2 separate regions of the Homo sapiens genome follow, and region 1 is linked to region 2. The links are contacts of gene promoters, found by promoter capture Hi-C in human tissues and cell types (Jung and others, 2019). All regions are on one chromosome and are shown on one strand. Each heading gives the region's core, a stretch centred on a gene start or on the middle of the fragment in contact. The rest is flanking DNA. Distances are from core to core; before and after follow the strand shown. Region 1 overlaps AFAP1L1 (actin filament associated protein 1 like 1). Region 2 holds the start of SLC26A2 (solute carrier family 26 member 2).

What was found. Contacts are between HindIII fragments. The study calls those that stand out against the background at their distance.
Region 1: a contact is called between a fragment that was not itself captured here and the fragment with the promoter of SLC26A2 in region 2, in 1 of the 25 tissues and cell types used here (IMR-90 fibroblasts).

The regions. Positions count from the first base shown.
Region 1 is chr5:149,322,226-149,329,046 of GRCh38, reverse strand. AFAP1L1 (actin filament associated protein 1 like 1) reads right to left here. Exons shown (of 19, transcript NM_152406.4): 15 at 6,330-6,441. It overlaps LOC124901103 (a long non-coding RNA gene), which reads left to right. Exons shown (of 2, transcript XR_007058989.1): 2 at 4,133-4,826. Among named protein-coding and RNA genes, the nearest start is that of GRPEL2, 20 kb to the left of the region's middle. RefSeq lists enhancers at 5,881-6,406, 6,407-6,821. The HindIII fragment of the contact is 6,826 bases long and covers 1,105-6,821 here.
Region 2 is chr5:149,955,686-149,962,195 of GRCh38, reverse strand. SLC26A2 (solute carrier family 26 member 2) reads right to left here and starts at 1,438. Exons shown (of 3, transcript NM_000112.4): 1 at 1,217-1,438. RefSeq lists a silencer at 1,383-1,502 and enhancers at 2,543-2,622, 2,419-3,022. The HindIII fragment of the contact is 6,337 bases long and covers 1-5,129 here.

The DNA.
Region 1 (6,821 bases), core at 3,268-5,767, 640 kb after region 2:
AGATTCTAGACTTTGGACTACAGTCAGGCATTGTCCATTTTATTACTGGGGAAGGGGTTGGGGGAGCGAGGAACCTGGTGTTCTACTGCAGGTTCAACACTATGATGGACAATAAAAACAAATAATTATGGCAAAAATTATTTATTATTTACTACACACAAGGAACTATATGCTGAGCCATTCACTTGCATTTCCACTTAGTCATCATGAAACTTATTTTTTTTATTTATTTTGAGACAGAGTCTCGCTCTGTCACCCAGGCTGAAGTGCAGTGGCGTGATCTCAGCTCACTGCAACCTCCACCTCTGGGGTTCAAGCGATTCTCCTGCCTCAGCCTCCCGAGTAGAGTAGCTGGGACTACAGGTGCCCGCCACCATGCCTGGCTAATTTTTGTATTTTTAGTAGAGATGGGGTTTCGCCATGTTGGTCAGGCTGTTCTCGAACTCCTGACCTCAAGTGATCAGCCTGCCTCAGCCTCCCAAAGTGCTGGGATTACAGGAGTGAGCCACTGCGCCCAGCCCACAAAACTTACTGTAATTAATTTTCTTTTATTGTTGAGGAAACTGAGGCACACAGAGGTTAGGTCCCACTGCTAATGGTGGCAGAGCCGAGGTTAAACCCATGTCTCCATGTCTCTCTGACTCCAGGGTCCATGCTGTGCAATACTGCTCTAGCTGGGCCAAGGCCATAGTTCAACCTCTTAGGGAAAGTTTTACTTTTTTTTTTGTGCGCTATACAGAGGCGCACACAGCTTTATATAAGTCGGTGCAGAATAATTCCTGCAGTTTATGGATAATTGGGGGTCTTGTCTAGCCAGCTGCTGCAGGGATTGCAGTGGTCACCCAGTGACCCATGCAAAAATCTGTTCCTGACACAACTACCTGCAGTTCAAGCCTGATCATAAATACAGCATGGAGGGCCTTCTGGCTTTCATTGTTACTGATGAGAAGTCAGCTGTTAATGTTACTGGGGTTCTCTTATACATGATGACCTGATTTTCTCTTCTGCCTTCAAGATTTTTTCCTTGTCTTTGGTATTAGCATTTTTACCATGATGTCTCTTTTGTAGATCTCCTTGCCTTTATCTTACTTGGATTTCACTGAGCTTCGTGGATGTATAGATTAATGTTTTTCAATAAATTTGGCAAGTTTCAGCCATTATTTGAATATTTTTTATGCTCATCTGTCTGTCTCTCTCTCTCTTCTCCTTCTAGTACTCCCTCTACACATATGTTTGTGCACTTAATGGTGTTCCACAATCCTCTGAGGCTCTGTCATTTTTCTTCATTCTTTTTTTCTCTTTGTTCTTGGTTTGCATAATCTCTATTTTTCTGTCATCAAGTTCACTGATTCTTCTACCAGGCCAAATTTACTGTTGTGCCCATTGAGTGAGTTTTTCGTTTCAGTTATTGTACTTTTCAGCCTCATGATTTTTATTTGGTTCTTCTTTTTATAATTTCTATCTTTCTATTGGAGGCCCCATCAATATATTATCAATAATATATTCCATATGACTATACTATATAGTATAGTATAATATAGTAAGCATATAGCTATATTCCATATAACTGTAGTGTAGTTCCATATACGTATACTGTAGTGTACAGTCTAGTGTAGTGTAGTACTCAGTATAGTCTATTTCCTCCTGCAGTATGAAGCCAATTTCTCTAGAACAATGAGAAATACATTTCTGTTGTTTATAAGTTACCCAGCTTATGGAAGTTTGTTATAGCAGGAGGAATGAGCTATTATCAATAATATATTGATAGAGACTACCAATAATATAGGCTATCAATAATACAGACTATCTGTTAATACACTGTCATCTTCTGTTCCTTTATTTCTTTAAGCATGGTTTCCTTAAGTTCTTTAAATATATTTATAATGGCTGCTTTGAAATCTTTGTTAAATTCTACATTTGGGCCCTCTCTCAGGCAGTTTCTGTTGCTTGATTTTTTTCCTTCTGTATGGGTCACATTTTCCTGCTTCTTCATGTGTGTCATAAATTTTTGTTGAAAACTGGTCATTTTCGAGAATATATTGTAGTATCTTTTGATATGCATCCCCCCAACCGGGTTGTTGGGTTGTTATTTTCTTATTTGTTTAGTGACTTGTCTGAACTATTTTATTGTAGTCTACTTCCTCTTGAAGTATGAAGCCACTGATGTTGCTCCTCAGAGGCCATAGCCTTGGCATGTGTACAGTCACTCTGGGGTGACAGCGTATTAGCAGGGATTTCTGACTCTTTTCCTAATCTCCTGTTAAGCAGTCGGCCTCTGTTGCTATTACACCCAGCTCTACTAATTGTCAGGTGTTTGCTCTATTGATTTTGACAATGCATCAATTACTCCACAGCCTGATCCAATTAAATTCAGCCCCTTTACAGGATAGTTCTGGAGGCCCATCTTTGAGATTTGTTCTAACCCTAGGAGGGCTCTTTTTATTTTAAAAAATTTCTTTTTAAATATATATATATTTTTCTTTCTTTTTTTTTTTTTTTTTATTTTTGGCGACAGGGTCTCACTCTGTCGCCCAGGCTGGAGTGCAGTGGCACCATCAGGGCTCACTGCAACCTCTGCCTCTTGGGTTCAAGCGATTCTTGTGCCTCAGCCTCCCGAGTAGCTGGGATTACAGGTGCCCGCCACCATGCCTGGCTAATTTTTGTATTTTTAGTAAAGACAGGCTTTTGCCATGTTGGCTAGGCTTGTCTTGAACTCCTGGCCTCAAGTGATCCACCTGCCTCAGCCTCCCAAAGTGTTGGGATGACAAGGGTGAGCCATCACGCCCGGCTGAGGGCAATTTTAGCTGTCTCTTTCTGTGGTTCTCTCTGATAAACTAGCCTGTGGTTTAGTTTATTGTTCTCATAACCACCAAATCTCCATTGTTTTTGAGAGCACCCTTTGGTTTACACTTTCCCACACTCTGTTCCAACTAAAGTCAGTTCTTTCGAGGAAGAGCTTTGGAGTTCTCTGTTCTTATGGCCTGCCTTTCCCCACTCGGCAAAATCTCTGAGTCACTGCTCTGGATCCAGGGGTGGGAACAATGGCCTGTGCTGTGGTTTGAATGTTCGTACCCTCCAAAACTCATAATGAAATTTAACTGCAATTGTAACAGTATGAAAAGATGGGACTTTGAGAGGTGATTTAGGCCATGAGGGCTTTGCCTTCATGGATGGGATTAATGCCATTAAAAGAGAGCAAATTCAACCCCCTTTTGCCTCTTTGCCCTTCCATTTTCTGCCATGTGATGATGCAGCAAGAAGGCCCTTGCTAGATGTCAACACCTTGATCTTGGATTTTCCAGCCTCCAGACTAGGAGCTAATAATTTCTGTTCATTATAAATTACTCAGTCTCTGTTATTCTGTTATAGCAGCACAAAACAAATTAAGAGCCTGTTTCTCTTGGAGTGACATTCCTGTTATGAGCAGGGTGCTGGGTGGGGGCAGTAACCTCTGGTCTACTCTGCTTGCCTCTCCCAGCATGGAACCTCTGCCTTACAAGTGAGCTAGGATGAGGGCAATCAGGGCCCCAGTATTCTTGGCTTACCCTACCTGGGGCAAAGCCTTTGCTCTATCATCTGGGTAGAGGAAGGGAGCTTCCTACCTCTTGGCTGCAATCACCTAGAATTTAGCCTCTACAGCATGGAGCTGGGTATGACAAAAAATACTGGCAGCCTGCCCTTCCTGGGGAGATACTGTAGCCCTTGACTGGCAGCTGGGGGAAGAAGGAGCCCTGTTTTCTTGTCCAGACATGCCTGGAGTGAAGATTCTTTCAAACTGAGTTGGGGAATAAAGGGGTAGGTTGTGGCTCAAATGCCACAAACTCTCACTGTTCTTACTAAGATTTAGCAAATTTTCTAGAGTAAATGTTTCTTCATTTGCCCTTAGGAAAATTTCCAGACTTTAAGTAATTGTTTGTTTTAATAAATTTCACCAGCTACTGCTGTTTTGCTAGGGAGTGGGTCCATGCAGCTTCTCACGCCACCATTTTTCTCAGCAATCATCTACTTGGCCTCCATGATTCTTGCTTCCTGATATTCATGCCCTTTTATAGTCCCCTCCCACACTAAACAGTGCTGACCTGTGTAACCATTAGGATATTGGAGAATGACAGAGTGTAACTTCTAACCATAGGTCATAAAAGACCTTGCAGCATCAGCCTTGCTGTTCCTTCTTGGGTTGCTTGCTCTGGGGGAAGCCAGCTGTCACATCACAAGGATAAGCAACTCTATGAAGAAATCCCCATGGCAAAGAACTGAGGCCTCCTTCCAACAACCAGCACAAACTTGCCAGGCATGCAGTGAGCCATCTTAGAAGTGGATCCTTCAGCCTGTCAAGCCTTTAGGTGACTTCAGATGACCGGCCAACGTCTTGAGATCTCATGAGAGACCCCAAGCCAGAACTATCTATCCAAGCCATTTGGAGATTCTTGACCCACAGAAACCGTGTGACATAACACATGTTCCTGCTTATTGTTTAGAGGAGCTAAATTTTGGGTAATTTCTTATGTAGCAATAGGCAATTAATACATGATCGTGGGCAAAATCCTTTGGCTATAGACTAGATGTTTACATCCCCCAAAATTCATATGTTGAAACCTAATCCCCTTCGAGATGGCACTTGGAGGTGGGGCCTTTGGTAGGTGATTAGGTCACGAGGGTGGAGCCCTCATGGGTAGGATTAGTGCCCTTAGGAAAGAGACCCCAGGGAGCAAAAAGATGGTCATCACCAGGAAACAGGCCCTCACCAGACACCAAATTGGCTGCCACCTTGATCTCAGACTTCCCAGCCTCCAGAACAATGAGAAATAAATTTCTGTTATTTATAAGTTCCCCAGCTTATGGGATTTTGTTATAGCAGGAGAAATGGACTAAGATATCTTCCCTTTTATTTTCTTCAGTTTCTTCATCTAAAAAACAACCTTGTTGGAATTCATCAGTAGTTTTCCACTGTGGTTTCCCACTGCCCTTCAAGGAAGCTTATGACCCCACAGTGATGGCTAACAGGAAAAGTGGAGGCCAAGTGGGCCTCAACCAGAGTAGCTCCACTTTTATTTTTCTTTTATAAACTGGGCTTTCATATAAGATTTGATTTGAAGAAAGGGTCTGCTTTTTTGTGTGTGTTTGTTAGTTTTTTGTTGTTGTCGTTGACATTCGGTGATTTCTTTAATCTTACATGCTTTTTTCAGTTTAGATTTCCATTTTAAAATGGGCATTTCACAAGGCCCTGCATTTCCAGTGCCTCTGAGAGTAGAGTGCAAAGTTACACAACAACCTTCTGATTGTTCAGAGAGGAAACTCAGGCCCAGAGAGGGGAAAGGACTTTTCCCAGAGGTACACAGTAATTCAGTAGTCAAGGGAGGAATGAGGAATGGAATACAGATTTCCTGACCCTCAGAAGGGATGATCTATACAAATGAAATGGAGCTATAATACAGAAAAGTATTTTTTAAAAATAGGTATTAAAAAATAAAAGTAGATTTTCAAAAAGCACAGAACAGAACTTGACTCTGTTGAGATGCAGGGGGAAGAAATGTAAAGGAACAAAGAAAAAACTTTTGGAACATGCTGTCCCACAGGAAGCTGGCTTGTTCATAAAGATAAATCACACAGAAGCACAGATTACTGTTGGAAGTAAAAGAGAATTTACAACAGAGTTGCCTGGTGTACTTAGTCATTATTGTGCAGTGTGGTAATCAGGCAATTCACTGAGCTCCTGGGGGGTGCTAGGCAGAGCTAGGGTGGGACACCAAGGTGAGCTGTGGCTTTCATGGGAGCTGGCTCCAGGGTATTTGGATAGGTTCAGTTCTCCACTTACTACCCCAGTTCAGAAATCACAAATTGTTAGCCTCTGAAACAGATACAGCTTGTCATCAATCTCTCTCTCTCTATTTGGCCTCATTTGGTGCTAAATTAAAAAAAAATAGTTGCTGATATTAAAAAATAAGTAGACTTCACCTAAATTCTAGATTTCTGGCCTCTTTTAAGTAATTGGCAAATCTGGTGTTAGGGGCCTGGTACTGCTGCATAGGGATCATCTGCTGGAGCTGAGCAGCAGCCTCCCCTATAGTTGGGACCTGAGAAAACTGGGTACCGGTTTCCTACAGTACCTCCCCACCCCCCAACTCCCTGTCATTTTCCCTCTGAGGCCACATGCTAGCTGCCCTTTATCATTGTGCTTGCTCTGTGATTTTTCTTACGGTAGAGTATTTTCTTGCATCTCACTTTGCTCATTTATTTACCCACCAGGGAAACTGATTTTGAGATCCCTCCTATAGACTGCTTCCTTTCCTTCCTCCCTAGTCAGCAGGGGAGGCCCACACACAACTCACTGGAGGCGTGGCGTTTGACTTTGACCTGCGGGTCCACACGATGGGACTTCTCACTGCAGGAGGAGGCGTGACGCTTCACCTGGGCCCCTGTGGGGCGCTCGGGCTCCTCGTCCTGGTGGGAGATGGAGGAAGACAGTCAAGTTCAGGCAGGCGCAGACTCATCAATGCAGGGTGTATTGCGGTCTTTGCTCAGTATGGAGTCTTCTTGCTCTGAGATCTTGGTCTTACATTTTTAGACTTGCATAGCACTCAAAAATCATAAAGCACTTTTGCTAGCAGTATATCATTTGAACCTCATACCTTTCTGCTGGGGGGCAGCAGAAGGCAACCCTAAACTGCAGCACCTGCTGAGAGGAAAATTAGAAAGTCTCAAAAGACTGTGGGTGGCTATATTTGATTTATCATCGATACTTTTGTCTTTAGAACATTTGGAAGTATCCTGATTTTCTGAATTGCCTCAAAAAGAAAACAGTCTTCCCTCAAGAAGAAAAG
Region 2 (6,510 bases), core at 189-2,688:
CCATCCCTGCAAATCCAAGGATGAGATCCAGGACTCCACACGCTAGATGATGCTGAACGAGTGAGCTTAGGACCACACTTGGAGAATCACTGGATGTGTTCTGGAAGTCAAACAGATCTCTGTTCAGATCCCAGCTATACTGCTCAGCAGTCATATGGCAATGGTTTTGTAAAACTTCACTGTACTCAGCATCAATTTCTGACCTGTAAAATGGGGTAACATTACCTAACTTGCTGGTTTGTAAGGCTAACACAACTACCTACCACAGTGCCTGGCACATAGCATTTACTCAATAAACGACAGCTATTAGTCTCTGTCCCTTGCTATATCCTGCCTTGAGATTCCTGATTTTAAAGGGTCCATTCCTTTCCCACAGCTTTGGCCCTCCATTTCTTATTGATTCAATTTTCAAAAACAAAAAGTTCTGCTTAATCTAGTATTGCATATCACATTAGTTGTAGATTTCACATAAAGAACTGTTGGGGACAAGGAGAAAAGACAGGTTAACTAGAATGGGCGCCGGAAGGCAATTTAAGTTCTGAATGTTTCTAACTCACTGTGATCCCCAATCTGTGCAAGGAAGGAGCCCAGGCTGATAGTCTATGAGTTTGGAGAGCTGGGTACAAGTCCTAGCTCTGCAAAAGACTTGCTGTGTATTTTTAGGCAAGGCTCTGGGCCCTCTCTGTCTTCTCAGTGTTTCCATCCATCCAGTGAAATAATACCAACTTAGTGTGTGAGTCCGAAAGAACAGGTCCTGATTTTGTACTTAATCGGGTGTGTGATTTTTAATAACCAAGATAACCAAGCCGTCTCGCCTGTGCCGGCCTCAGTTTCCCCATCTGTCCGAGGTGGTGGTGGCTCCTATCTCCTCGATCCCTATTCCAGATATCTAGGTTCGAGACGGATCAACGAGGACTGGAAAAGCAGCGGAGTGCGTGGCACCCGGCGAGATACGGCGAGATACGCGGGATGGAGGGCGGGTGGGCAGCCGCCAGCCAGACGGGCAGGCCCGGATCACCAGGGTGCAGTGCCACTCGCCCGGCCCCGGACCACCCGGGAAATAACCTGACGCACGCCCCGCTCCACGGCGGCGACCCCTGATCTGGGATTCTACCGCGCGGGGACCCAGGCAGAATGACTCTGGGAGGGGCCCGCTGACCGCTTGGCGGCCAGCACCGCTCCCTCCCTCTTCCCTGGTCCGCTTCCCTCTTCTCACCTCTCGGGTCCGGGCCGCTGCAGGCAACCAGGCGCCGCGGCACGCGTCTTCCACCGTGGCCTGACTGAGGTGGACACCGCGGCGCCGACAGAGCTATACCTGCCTGTCCCTTTCCCCGCCCATCGCTCGGACTCCGAAGGAGGCGGGGCCCGGCTGCCGGGACCTACGGGCGCGGCGAGGACGCACCGGCGAAGAGATGCCGGAGGCAGAGCCAGTGTAAACGCCCGCGGCCGAGGCCGTCACGTGGTACTGCCGGGCGAGCGACGCTACCACCAGCCAATAACTCGGCCCAGACCGGGGAGGGTGCCGCCCTCTGACTACTCTCCTCCTCGCGATTGGCTGCCCTGGACAGAAGAGCACAAGCTGGAAGGATTCTTAGAGAGGTTCCGCCGCTGCTTCCGTGGCGTTGACTCCTCCGCGGAGAGAGCGGATGACCGGCCTCGGCGGCTAGCCTGTGGCCAGGGTGAAATAGCAGGAGAGGCGCGGAAGCGCTCTGCCCAGAGTTTTGAAGTGCTCAGCGTTTGCGATCGGCCACCTCTTTATCCAGTACTACTTGGGACCCCGTTCCCTCCCACCCGCCTTTGTAGAACGGGAAATTGAGGCCCCGAACGGGAAAAGAGCTCCTAGAATGTTAGAGGCTCTTGCCTCACTATAACTCATTCCCCATCAAAGATTCCAGTAACCGGAAGGCTAAAATGTAAATTAAAAGGCCGGGCGCAGCGGCTCACGCTTGTAATCCCAGCACTTTGGGGGACCGAGTAGGGAGGATCGCTTGAACCCAGGGGTTCGAGATCAACCTGGGCAGTATAGCCGAACCTTGTCTCTATAAAACATAAAATGTAAATTAAAATGTAATTGTAGTTTTTGTTAAAATCCTTAGTGGGTTTAATGGCATTTGTAGGTAAAATCAAACCCTCCCTATGCCAAGGTACTGTGTGCTTCGGGCACTCATCTCTGCCCCCCTCCCTCGCTGATCTCCACCCATACTGGCCCCCTTTGCTCGCCACGCTTGTTCTCTTTAGGGACCTAAACATTGGTTCTGGCCATCAGATTTCTTCTGGTCTCTCAGGTCTCAGCCAAAACACCAGCCCTCTCCATGGCGAGGCCGTCCCTGACCACCCTGTGTAAACTAGCCACAGCCAGTCACATCCTTTCAGGTCATCTTGATTTAATTATCTGCCTCGAACTGGCCACTATTGAGTATGTATTAATTTGTTCATTCCTCACCTTGTTTGTAGCTTGCATGTGCCCACTAGATGGGGGTGAAGGAGGGCCTGTGAAGGAAGCATGATTAACTTCCTTTCCTTCCCTTTCCGGTGAACGTCTTCACAGTCATTCAAGGAACTCCCTTTCTTATCTAGAGATGATCCCCAAGTTTCTGTCACCCATCAGATTCAGAGTTTCCAAAACGTCATAAGCTGTCTTGGGAATCAGAACACAAACACTTGGGTTCTACTCCTGATGCTGCCCCTTGTGGCTGAAGACAAATCATTTCACCTCAATGGGCATCAATGTTTTCACCTTTCAAAGGGTAGTTAATGCCCTAGCACCCAGAGTCCTGGAGAGGGTCAGGTAAGGCAATCAGTGTAAAGTACTTTGTTTAAGCCCTAAAGACTGCACAACAAGCAGAATAAACAGTTTCTGGATGTTTATCACGTGCCTGCGCAGAACTCTTCACATTCATTACATGAGTTAATCCTCACAACAGCTTTAGAGGAGGTGCCATATTATGATTCTTCTTTTTTTTGGTGAGGAAATGAGGCTCAGAGATGTTAGGTGATCTGCCCAACGTCCCACAGTTAATAAGTGACAGTAGCATGATTTTAACACAGTCACGTCTGACTGCAAAGCCCACTCTTAACCACTACACTCACTGTGCTATGCAAATGCAAGAATCCACTCCAATCCTTGCAGCTGACATTTATTCATTTATTTGTTTGTTTTCTTGTCTGTGTGGGGAAGCCAGGACCTTGCATATAACAGGCACCAATAAAGATTGGCCAAATTTGGCCGGGCATGGTGGTTCATGCCTATAAGCCACTTGAGCTCAGGAGTTAGAGACCAGCCTGGACAACATGGTGAAACTCCAACTCTACCAAAAATAGAAAAAAGTAGCCAGGCATGGTAGCATGTGCCTGTAGTCCCAGCTACTCAGGAGGCTGGGGTGGGAGGACAGCTTGAGCCCAGTAGACAGAGGTTGCAGTGAGCCGAGATCGTGCCACTGCACTCCGGCCTGGGTGACAGAGTGAGACCCCATCTCAAAAATAAAAACAAAAGCAAAAATAAAAAACCAGACCAGTCAAATTTAATACTGCCTATCATTCTTTGATTTTATTTCATACATATTCATCTGCATCACAGACGAAGAAATTGGGGCTCAGAATAGTATTACTTACCAAGTTTATTCAGCTAACAAGCAGTAGATTTTGAGATGGGATGGAGGTGGATTTTGACCTGGGAGCTGTGACATGCCAGCACCCAAGAACATGCAAGCTATGGCCCGGGGCCAGGAGAAGGTGCTAGTAAAGAAGCTTTAGGTTGGCCATTGGTGCCTCTCTGCCTCCTAGTTCAGCATCCCTGGCTGCTGTTTACTGTTGTGGTCCCTCGCTGATCTCCACACACACATCCCAAGGAGCTCCATGGAGCCAGACTTTGGTCTGCCATGCTACTTTCCCTTCACCGATGTTCCAGTGCTCCACAACAGGAATCAAAGGCAGCGGGTGGAGGGGTGGGGTGGGGGGTGGGGGTGAATAACTAAATCCCTGCTACTGGAAAGCTGGCCAATAATTAGCTTTTCCTCGATGACATCACATCAGCAGCACTTGGATCTCTTTACGCCTCCTAGCCTGGGCATTTTTTCCCTCCTGTTGGTCTCAGGGTTCACAGAGGTGACTGGCAGCCGGAGGGCCACATTTTATAGCCATTACTCTTCCCAAACAGCTTTTCCAAAGCGTAACTAATGATGTATGCACTGGAGGCATGGTGGGCCAGCAAATAAGTCCTTTCAGGTTGGGGCCACTTCAGGATTTACCTCCTCAGCATTCCTGACCACCCATTCTTCCCAGGTGGGACTAGTCACTTCCTCTGAGGCCCCACTGGACCTTGAACTCCCACTGGATTCCCACTATTGAATGAACTATTCCTAGTGTGCTATTCAGGCTTCATTTTCACTGCTATAAGTGTCTTTTTTTTTTTTTTTTTTTTTTTTTTTAAGAGACAGGGTCTTGCTCTGTCACCCAGGCTGGAGTGCAGTGGCGCAATTATAGATCCCTCTAACCTCGAACTGCTGGACTCAAGTGATCCTCCCACCTTAGCCTCCTGAGTGTCTAGAACCACAGCCGAACGCCACCACACCCAGCTAATTTTTTATTTTTTTGTAGAAATGGGGGTCTCCCTATGTTGCCCAGCCTGATCTCAAACTCCTGGCCTCAAACTCCTGGCCTGAAGTGATCCTCCTACCTTGGCCTCCCAAAGTATTGGGATTACAGGCATGAGACACCATGCCTGGGCCATTTTACTTTTTTGCAAAACATTTTGTAAAATGTTAGCTTGATTGTTCTTGGAAATAGGTAACACAAAGTAAACAAATTAAAAAGGTCAAGGGTTTACAGTAAAAAGTAAATCTTCCTCATAGCCTATTCTTACCCTGGTGTACCTTTCTAGAGGCAAACACAGCACCCATTTTCCTGTGTTGCTTTCCAGGTTTATTCTATACCAGCAGTTCTCAGTTCTGCACAAGGTCAGGAGTTCGTGACCAGCCTGGCCAACATGGTGAAACGCTGTCTTTACTAAAAATACAAAAAATTAGCCGGGTGTGGCAGTGGGTGCCTGTAATCTCAGCTACTCAGGAAGCTGAGGCAAGAGAATCACTTGAACCCAGGAGGTGGAGGTTGCAGTGAGCCGAGACTGCAACATTGCACTTCAGCCTGGGCAACAAGAGCAAAACTCCATCTCAAAAAAAAAAAAAGAGTCTCTTGGGGAACTTTTAAAAAAATGGTAATGTTTAGGTCCTACTACCAGATATACTTTTATTGGTATTGACTCAGACATTGATAGTTTTTAAAAGCCTGCCATGCAGCCATAAAAAAGAACAAAATCACGTCCTTTGCAGCAATATGGGTGGAGCCGAAGGCCATTATCCTAAGAAAAACAACTCAGAAACAGAAAACCAAAGACACATGTTCTCACTTATAAGTGGGAACTAAACAATGGGTACATAAGATCATAAAGATGGAAATTACAGATACTGGAGACTCCAAAAGAGGAGCACGAGGGTTGAAAAATTACCTGTCGGGGCTGGGCGTGGTGGCTCACGCCTGTAATCCCAGCACTTTGGGAGGCCAAGACGGGTGGATCACCTGATGTCAAGAGTTTGAGACCAGCCTGGCCAACATGGTAAAACCTCGTCTCTACTAAAAATACAAAAATTAGCCAGGCGTGGTGGCGGCCACCTGTAATCCCAGCTACTTGGAAGGCTGAGGCAGGAAAATCACTTGAACCCGAGGGGCGGAGGTTACAGTGAGCCCAGATCATGCCACTTTACTCCAGCCTGGGCTAAAGAGTGAAACTCTGTCTCAAAAAAAAAAAAAGAAAAATTACCTGTTGGGTACAATGTTCACTATTTGAGTATTTGGGTATTGGGTACACTAGAAACCCAATTCCCTCCAGTATGTATATACCCATGTAACAAACAAGCACATGTACACCCTGAATCTAAAATAAAAATAAATTTTAAAAATAAAAGATAAAAAAAGCTATCCAGGATATTCTTTTTTTCTTTTTCCTTTTTTTTTTTTTTTTTTTGAAAGAGGGTCTCACTCTGTTGCCCACGCTGGAGTACAGTGGTGCAATCATGGCTCACTGCAGCCTCAACTGCCCCAGGCTCAGGTGATCTTTCCACCTCAGCTTCCCAAGTAACTGGGACTACAAGCATGTGCCACCACACCTGGCTAATTTTTGTATTTTTTGTAGAGGTGGAGTCTTGCTATGTTGCCCAGGTTGGCCTTGTACTCCTGACTCAAGCAATCCTCTCACCTTGTCCTCCCAAAGTATTGGGATTACAGGTGTGAGCCACAGCTCCCAGCCCCACTAGAGATTCTAAGCACACCTAGGTTGGCAAACCACTATTGTATGCATATATAAGACTCTCCCTATATATTTTTTAAACAAGAAGGGCATAGAATACATACCATTCTGTTGCTTTTTAAAAATTATGTGGTGAAGATTATTTTATATCAGTGCATACAGAGCTGCTTTCTCTCTATTGCTGAATAAATCACTCCAAAAGGTAGAAG